2 separate regions of the Homo sapiens genome follow, and region 1 is linked to region 2. Evidence: promoter capture Hi-C in 16 types of primary human blood cells and fetal thymus (Javierre and others, 2016). All regions are on one chromosome and are shown on one strand. The core of a region is centred on a gene start or on the middle of the fragment in contact, and the rest is flanking DNA. Distances in the headings are between cores, read along the strand shown. Region 1 has its middle 67 kb from the start of CHASERR. Region 2 holds the start of SEC11A (SEC11 homolog A, signal peptidase complex subunit).

Region 1 (4,882 bases), core at 2,227-4,726, 8.1 Mb before region 2:
AAGATAAACAAAGAAAAAATCCCTGTCTCTGAAGGGTTCTTATTTTTGTCTGGAGGACTAACATGTAAAATGATAATTGCCATAAATGACAAGTGATCACATAGTTTGATTAGAGAGAGAGCAGAAACATCAAGTTAAGCTTATCTAAGATTGATGGCAGGGGCGGGGGACAGAGAAACTTCAAAGAGGAAGTGACTTCGATGAGCTGGTCTCAAAGGAGTCTAAGCTGGCAGAGTTGGGAAGGACCTCAGTAAAGAGAACGGCATGAATAAAGGCTAGAAGTGGGTGAGGACGTTGTGGATATTTAAAAAACAAAACAAGACAAAAGCAACAAATTACAAAAACATAGTGAAAAGTCAGCTATAGCAGGAGCCACCGGAGGAAGGTTTGCTGGAGATGTCTGATAATATAGGCTGGGGTGACATTGTAAAAGTGAGTCTATAGAGCTCAAAGTCTCCTGTGCACAAGCAGACTAGGATAAGGGTGATGGTGAAAGAGATCAGTGATGGGAGACTTTTTCCATTAACTCTTTTTTTTTTTTTTGAGACGGAGTTTCGCTGTTGTTGCCCAGGCTGGAGTGCAATGGCGCGATCTCAGCTCACTGCAACCTCTGCCTCCCAGAGTCAAGCGATTCTCCTGCCTCAGCCTCCCTAGTAGCTGGGATCACAGGCATGTGCCACCACGCCCGGCTAATTTTGTATTTTTAGTAGAGATGGGGTTTCTCCATCTTGGTCAGGCTGGTCTCAAACTCCCGACCTCAGGTGATCCGCCCACCTCGGCCTCCCAAAGTGCTGGGATTATAGGCATGAGCCACCGCGCCTGGCCATCCATCCATTAACTCTTAAAAAATGTAAAGAGATTAAAACTGACTTAAAAAAATGTGTATGTGCACGTGTATCACTTTGCAATGGATCCTAGGAACATAAAAATGAATACGGTATCAATCTTACCTTCTAGATAGTCTAGGTTTCCCAGGGAAACCTTCCACACATGGGATAAGTGCTGTAATATAACAAGTAAACACCGTGAAAAGTCTGGGAGTATGAAAGAAGGAGAAACTCCTGGAAGGAACAGAGAGGGCCAGTCAGGGCTTCCCAAAGGAAGAGATGCTAGATTTTTTTTTTAATTAAAAAATTTAATATTTATGCAAATCGTTAGACATTTTCCCAACAATACAAAACAGTATACAGTGAAAAGAAAATCTTTCCTCACCCAGACCCTTGACTGCCCATCAGAGGCATCCTTCCCATTAATATAAATATCACTCTGGCCAGGCGTGGTGGCTCACGCCTGTAATCCTAGCACTATGGGAGGCCGAGGCTGCCAGATCACGAGGTCAGGAGATCGAGACCATCCTAGCTAACATGGTGAAACCCCATCTCTACTAAAAGTACAAAAAAATTAGCTGGGCATGGCGGTGGGTGCCTGTAGTCCCAGCTACTCAGGAGGCTGAGCAGGAGAATGGCGTGAACCTGGGAGGCGGAGCTTGCAGTGAGCAAAGATCACGCCACTGCACTCCAGCCTGGGAGACAGAGCGAGACTCTGTCCCAAAATTAAATAAATAAATAAATAAAATGAAAATAAATATCACTCCTTTCTCTTTTTTTTACACAAATAGATGCATTTTGTATTCAGTTTTTCATACCTCCTTTTTTTTTTCTTTGAGATGGAGTTTCGCTCTTGTTGCCCAGGCTGGAGTGCAATGGCACAGTGTCGGCTCACTGCAACCTCTGCCTCCCGGGTTCAAGCGATTGTCTTGCCTCAGCCTCCTGAGTAGCTGGGATTACAGGCATGTGCCACCATGCCCGGCTAATTTTGTATTTTTAGTAGTGACAGGTTTCTCCATGTTGGTCAGGGTGGTTTCGAGCTCCTGACCTCAGGTGATCCTCCCGCCTTGGCCTCCCAAACTGCTGGGATTACAGGCATGAGCCCCCACACTCGGCCTATTTTTTCCCATTTAACAATGTATTTTAGAAATCAGTGCATATAGGCTGGGCGCAGTGGCTCACGCCTGTAATCCTAGCACTTTGGGAGGTCGAGGTGGGCGGATCACCTGAGGTCAGGAGTTCAAGACCAGCCTGGCCAACATGGCGAAACCCCGTCTCTACTTAAAATACAAAAATTAGCCGGGCATGGTGGAGACTAATTAGGAGGCAATTGGCCAAAGGAGAAGGAGGCATTGACAGCGGGCAGAAAGTGGATTAAGGAAGCAGGATTGATAATTACCACCGTCTATTGAGAATTTATTATTTGTGCCAGGCATTTTACTAAGTACTACATACTGTCCAGCATTTATCCAATTCTTGGAACAAATAAAGAAATATTTGCAATTTACAAGTAGGAAACTGAAGCTCAGAAATATTAACTGCTCAATGTTACACAGTTTGGAAAGGACAGAACTGGACTCCAACTCTGCCTCCCTCTGACTCCCAAGTCCCAGTTCTTTTTTTTTTTTTTTTTTTTTGAGACGGAGTCTCACTCTGTCGCCCAGGCTGGAGTGCAGAGGCGTGATCTCAGCTCACTGCAACTTCCACCTCCCGGATTCAAGCGATTCTCCTGCTTCAGTCTCCTGAGTAGGTGGGACTACAGGCATGTGCCACCACTCCTGGCTAATTCTGTATAGTTTTAGTATAGATGGGGTTTCACCATGTTAGCCAGGATGGTCTCGATCTCCTGGCCTCGTGATCCGCCCGCCTCAACCTCCCAAAGTGCTGGGATTACAGGCTTGACCCTCTGCGCCCGGCCCAAGTCCCAGTTCTCAAACACAGTTCCACAGGGCCTTGGAAGAACCAGGAGCAAGGCTTTAGGGCTATTTGATATGGGGGAGGAAGAGAAATTTGGGGGAGACTAGTAGTGATACATAGGCCTAGAGCCCTAACCCTGTTGGAATGTGCCCATGAGAAAACAGGGTTAAAAATATAGGGGGAGGCCAGGGTTGGTGGCTCACACCTGTAATCCCAGCACTTTGGGAGGCCGAGGTGGGCAGATCACTTGAGGTCAGGAGTTTGAGACCAGCCTGACCAACATGGTGAAACCCTGTCTCTACCAAAAAATAGAAAAATTAGCCAGGCGTGGTGGCACGCACCTGTAGTCCTAGTTACTATGGAGGCTGAGGCAGGAGAATTGCTTGAACCCTGGGAAGTGGAGGCTGTAGTGATCTGAGATTGTACACTCCAGCCTGGGCGAAAGAGGGAGACTCCGTCTCAAAAAAAAAAAAGGGTGTGGTCAGAACTGATCGCCCAAGGAAAGAGCATTGCATTCTCTGGGATTGTTTTTAAGATGATCATGTACTCGCTTCTAATTTTTTCCCATTATTCATGCCTTTGTTTTATTCCTCTTTACTATTCTGTGTTCTCTAAATGATTTGGAGAGAGCAAAGGAATGGCTGTGGCAAGTACAGTATAATTTTGGAATAACAGACTATTGAAGACCATGCGTGGTGGCTCACACCTGTAATCCCAGCACTTTGGGAGGCCAAGGCGGGTGGATCACGAGGTCAGGAGTTTGAGACCAGCCTGGCCAAGATGGTGAAACCCTAGCTCTACTAAAAATACAAAAATTATCCGGGCGCGGTGGTGGGCACCTGTAATCCCAGCTACTTGGGAGGCTGAGACAGGAGAATCGCTTGAATCTGGGAGGCTGAGGTTGCAGTGAGCCGTGATAGTGCCACTGCCCTCTAGCCTGGGCAACAGAACAAGACTCCGTCTCAAAAAAAAAAAAGACTATTGAACTTGCCAATTTAGCAGCAAAGACTCTGGGGTCTACAGTCTAGGATATGAGACAACCTATAGATTGCCTCTTTCATTTCTGGAAGGACTGAGGAAAGAGGCAAATTTACAAGACGTTTTCCTTTCATTGCTAGGCAGTAACTGTACCTCAGTAAAAGGATATTTTCAAAGGCCCTTGAGATTAAAAAGAACTTTTTTTCTTCTTCTCCTCCCTCTCTTCTTCCTCAGTCATATCAGTAGCAGATATGAAATTTCAGCTTTAAGGAGACAGGCTTCTAAGAGCTATAGCTTCCACAAGCTGTTCAAAGTCAAGTGTTCCTTAAAACAATTGAAATGTAAAATATTCATCATTATCTGCTTTAGGTATCAGCTATGAAATACGAATGATAAAACAAACAAAAATATCTAGAGCTGCTTTGAAAGGATCACCATGAATCTCTGGTAACAGATTTTAATCTCAGATGCACAGTGCTGGTTAGGTAAAAAAAAAATTCTCACGTTTATTGTGGTTCTGTAGAATCAGACTACTTAGTAACTTTGCAAAGGTTTACTTGGAGACTTTGAATTGACCTCAAATACCGTAGTCGAAGAGATCAACCTCTGCCATAGGGTACTGTCACTAAAAGGAAGACTATTACAGAATAATGACTGCCATCTATGGTAGTTTTTATTTTTTTTGAGATGGAGTTTCACTCTTGTTGCCCACACTGGAGTACAATGGCACGATCTCAGCTTACTGCAACCTCCGCCTCCAGGGTTCAAGCGATTCTCCTGCCTCAGCCTCCCGAGTAGCTGGGATTACAGGTGCCCGCCACCACGCCCAGCTAATTTTTGTATTTTCAGTAGAGATGGGGTTTTGCCATCTTGGCCAGGCTGGTCTCGAACTCCTGACCTCCAGTGATCTACCCTGCCCGGCCTCCTAAAGTGCTAGGATTACAGGCGTGAGCCACTGTGCCTGGCCTATGATAGTTCTTACAGCCCCATATCCTTTTAATATTAACAAAGTTTTCTTCATTCTACTGGAATGTATTTTATTGCAAGTATAGTAAGTAGAAGGATTTCATTTAAAGAGAAACTAGGGTTAAAAATATAGGAGGTGGCCAGGCGTGGTGGCTCGCGCTTGTAATCCCAGCACTTTGGGAGGCTGAGGTGTG
Region 2 (4,572 bases), core at 1,041-3,540:
CATACCCATTAGCAGCCACTCCCCATTTTCCCCAACTCTCCCAGCCCTAGGCAACCACTGATTTCCATCTCTGTGGATTTGTCTATTCTAGATATTTCACCTAAATGGAATCATGCAATGCTTTGTCTTTTGTGACTGGATCCTTTCACTAAATCTGTTTCAAGGGTCATTCATGTTGTAGTATTTCCTTTTGTTGCCAGATTAATATTCCATTGTACCAGCGGAATTATTAGTACATTATTCCAATATACCACATTTATTTATCCCTTCATTAGTTGATAAACATTTCAGTTATTTCCACTTTTTAGCTATTATGAATAATGCTGCTGTGAACATTCATGTACAAGTTTTTGTGTGGACAAACGTTTTCAATTTTCTTGGGTATATACCTAGCAGTGGAATTGCTGGTTAATATGGTGATTCCATCTTTAACCTTTTTTTGTTTGTGTGTTTTGAGATAGGGTCTCACTTTGTCGCCCAGGTTGGAGTGCAGTGGCACGATCTCGGCTCACCGCAAACTCTGCCTCCTGGGTTCAAGCGATTCTCCTGCCTCAGCCTCCCCAGTAGCTGAGATTACAGGTGCCCACCACCACACCCGCCTAATTTTTGTATCTTTAGTAAAGACGGGTTTTCACCATGTTGGCCAGGCTAGTCTGGAACTCCTGACCTCAGGTGATCTGCCTGCCTCAGCCTCCCAAAGTGCTGGGATTACAGGCATGAGCCACTGCAGACGGCACATCTTTAACCTTTTGAGCAACTGCAGCTATTTCCCAAAGTGGCTGCACCATTTTACATTCCCACCAGCAGTATATGAGGGTTCCAATTTCTTCACATCTTCCCCTAAACTTATTATTATTTGTCTTTTTTATTACAGCCATCCTCCAATAAATTCAAGTTTTTATTTTGGAATGACTTTCCATTTAAAGAATTTCGAGGATACTACAAAGAGTTCCAGTATATCCTTCATTCATCTTTCCCTAATGGGAGAGAAGGATTATTTTGAAAAAAAAAAAAAAAAAAAAAAAAGAGAGAGAAATGATACCAAGTAATCCAGCTTTAGTCTTTGTTGACTGAAGTGCGTATTAGGAGCTTTGGCCAGTCAAAGCAAAAGGTAGCGAAAAGATAGTCACTTCAAGGTGTCCAAGTTAAGAAAACCAGGAGGTAGAATTCAAGGAGACCATGTCAAATCCTGTCAGCAAAGTCAAGGTCAGAAAGGAAGCCACTTCCTAACGACCCACACCACTGGTGGTCTCATCACGCTGTTGCACCATTTGGATGTTTTCTAATTCTCCCGGGCTGTTTTCTCTCCAATTGGACTGTAAACTCCTGGCAGGCTCAGGCAGTGCTCGGAAGGTCTCTCACACGGTCCAACCTTACGCGAAAAGCACTTATTGAAAGCACCTCGATGGCCGGGCGCGGTGGCTCACGACTGTAATCCCAGCACTTTGGGACGCCAAGGCGGGCGGATCACCTGAGCTCAAGAGTTCGAGACCAGCCTGGCCAACATAGTGAAACCCTGTCTCTACTAAAAATACAAAAATTAGCCAGGTTTGGTGGCGCGCGCCTGTAGTCCCAGCTACTTGGGAGCCTGAGGCAGGAGAATCGCCTGAACCCGCGAGGCGGAGGTTGCAGTGAGCTGAGATTGCGCCACTGCACTCCAGCCTGGGCGACACAGTGAGAAAGAAAGGAAAGAGAGAAAGAGAAAGAAAAAGAGAAAGAGACAGACAGACAGAAAGTAAGCAAGCAAGCAAGCAAGCACCTCAACAGAGACAGAGACGTAAAGAAAGAGAGACAGAGACAGAAAGAAAGAAAGCACCTCCTCAGCTTCCCATAGCGCAGGAGACTTGCTCGACCAGAGAACCTACGGTCAGACGACACATCCACTGCCACACCCATACCCAAGCCGGGACGCGGAACCGCTTCTACCCGCCCACACCGGAGAGGTTGCTCGCGATTGGCCGGGCGGGCACAGAGGCCCGCCTTCCGAAGGTGGCAGAGCAGCCTCCCCAACTAAGCCTGGGTCGCCGCCTCGGTGAAGGGCCGCGGGGCCGAGCGCGGGAAGTGGCGTCCAGTCGGTTTTTGGCAGGCGAGAGCCAGAGCGTGAGAACCCTCCCACGGCGAGGCCAAGCCCTGAGACTGGACTAGCAAGGTCGTGAGTCTCTCTGTCAGCTCTCCGCAGCGAAGGGGCGCGGGGGGCGGGGACCGTGCCCGACCGTGCCAGCTCCCGCCCCGGAAGCGGAAGTGCAAGCACTGCGGGGTCCTGTCCAGTGTGAGCCCGACCCGAGCTCCAGTAGTTCCGCCCGCTGGTCATCGCGCCCTTTCCCCTGCCGGTGTCCTGCTCGCCGTCCCCGCCATGCTGTCTCTAGACTTTTTGGACGATGTGCGGCGGATGAACAAGCGGCAGGTGAGCTTGTCCGTCCTCTTTTTCTCCTGGCTCTTCTTGTCCCTTCGAGGCTGCTGCTGCGGGGCCCGGCGGACCCCAGGGTTCTGGTGTGAGGGTCTGAGCTGGTCTGATACCCGGGTCATTCGCTTTCTTTGGAGACTGTGGCCAGAGGCCGCCTTGTCCGCCTCATTATTTTTAACCCCGAACTGATTCAGGGCCTACCGGGGGCGGGGCGGGAAGCGGTGTCTTCACGTTCCATTCCTCCCACTGAGGCAGGGGAGCAAATGGAAACCGTACGCGCTTGAAGTGGGAGTTGGGGTTGCTTATTGTTTTAGTCATTTTAAGGCGGCGGACTCTTGATTTCTCCAGTCGGAGCGACTCCAGGTGGTTTCGGGAGAGACGAGGTTTAGCCGGTTTCTGGGGCGCTCAGGAAGGCGATTGGAGGCCCCACAAAAACCGTTTTGCTGCTTTCAGCTCCTTGCAACCCTTTAGTAGAGCTGAACCGTAGCGGGCTGCACCGACTTTGACTTGGACCACTCTGGGCTCCGAGTTGGAACAGTTACACTACTTGCCCTTGCGTCCGCTTAGCACTAAGGCGGCAGCCCTCGGAATCTATGGTTTTACAGTCCAATATCAGTGCCACGGGGATCTGGAAATGTAGGTCTCCTGATTTTGTCCTTACACTTTACTTTGATCTTCTAGATCGTATGCCAAATAGTACTGAGAATATTGTTGTAATTATTTAGTCCTTAGAAAAGGTTGTTCTGTTTTATCTTTTGCGCCTAGTGTGTCTGTAGAGCCTAGTTTTGCTGCATCGGACTTTTTTTTTGTTTTAAACAGTATTTTACTGTTATGATTATCCTGATGTCACCATTAAGGATTTTTTTTCCTTGGACTTGCATTTTTTGTACTTATAACTGCCACTTAGGGAAGTAGATACACAACCTTTCCTTACTCCCCTTCAGGCCTTAGCTAGCTCAGTGTCAATTCTGTCAGTCAGAATTGAGCATTCTATAAAAATTGCGCAAACGTTACTTTATGTCTTTATGACAACACTTCAAATTTTTACTTGTATAGTGTTGTCTTTTTTTAATCCATATTTGGATTTCTAGATGCCACAGATATTTCTCTGAGGAAAGTATTTATTTTGAGTCTGATATTTATTGTACTCTATGCTAGGTACAATGAGAGAAATGCAAAGATAGTTAAGAAAGACTCGGCCTTCAAGGAGCCTAAATGTGTAGAAAAGGACTAAGGCAAAACAATAACTTTTTTGAGCTCTTGCCATGTGTGAAGCACTTTATACACCTGTAAGGTAGGTAACGTTGTTCTTATTAAACATGAAGAAAATGAGACTTTGTGAGAAGCAATACAGTATAGAAGTTAAGAATATGGACTCTAAAGCTAGATTTCAGAGGTTTGAAGTAGCTCTGCTACTTACTGGCTGTGTGACTTTGAGCAGATTACTTAACCTGTCTGTGCCTATGTTTACTTTTATTGTTGTAAAAAGATATGCAACATAAAATATTCCATTTCAACCGTTTTTACGTGTATACTTCACTGACATTAGTTGCATTCACTATGTTGTGCAAACGTAGGGTCGCTATGAAGATTAAATGAGTTAATTCATATAAAGCCCTCAGAAGAGTGTCTGGCACATGGTGAGTATTGGCTGTACTGTGGTCGATGTCATTGTTAGAGAGCTTTAGTGATTTGCTTAAGACAGAAGGTAGACTGGGTGCGGTGGCTCACGCCTGTAATCCCAGCACTTTGGGAGGCTGAGGCAGGCGGATCACAATGTCAAGAGATTGAGACCATCCTGGCCAACATGGTGAAACCCCCTCTCTACTAAAAATACAGATACTAGCTGGGCCTGTTGGCGCACGCCTGTAGTTCCAGCTACTCAGGAGGCTGAGGCAGGGGAATCGCCTGGGAGGTGGAGATTGCAGTGAGCTGAGATCGTGCCACCGCACTCCAGCCTGGTGACAGAGTGAGACTCCGTCTCAAAAAAAAAAAAAAAAAAAAAAGAAGGTATATGGCAGGATGTGGATTTGATCTCAGGTCTTACTTTAAAGCCTGAACACTTGGATAAAGAAGGATATGACCTGTTCTAGCAGTGGTAGGAAAATTTTGAGAGGTTCCAGTCAGGGCATTACGAACAGCTTCAAGGAGAAACTAGCATTTAAGTT

What was found. The method cuts DNA at HindIII sites, captures the fragments that hold promoters and counts their contacts. A CHiCAGO score of 5 or more calls a contact.
Region 1: a fragment that was not itself captured here is called in contact with the fragment with the promoter of SEC11A in region 2 in 1 of 17 cell types (neutrophils); the score reaches 6.3 in neutrophils.

Annotation. Positions count from the first base shown.
Region 1 is chr15:92,813,031-92,817,912 of GRCh38, reverse strand. No RefSeq gene overlaps it. Among named protein-coding and RNA genes, the nearest start is that of CHASERR, 67 kb to the left of the region's middle. The HindIII fragment of the contact is 6,670 bases long and covers 142-4,882 here.
Region 2 is chr15:84,713,857-84,718,428 of GRCh38, reverse strand. SEC11A (SEC11 homolog A, signal peptidase complex subunit) reads left to right here and starts at 2,290. Exons shown (of 6, transcript NM_014300.4): 1 at 2,290-2,404. The coding sequence starts at 2,354. RefSeq lists enhancers at 942-1,505, 1,627-1,736, 1,757-1,876, 1,506-2,071, 2,547-2,616 and 1 more. The HindIII fragment of the contact is 22,021 bases long and covers 1-4,572 here.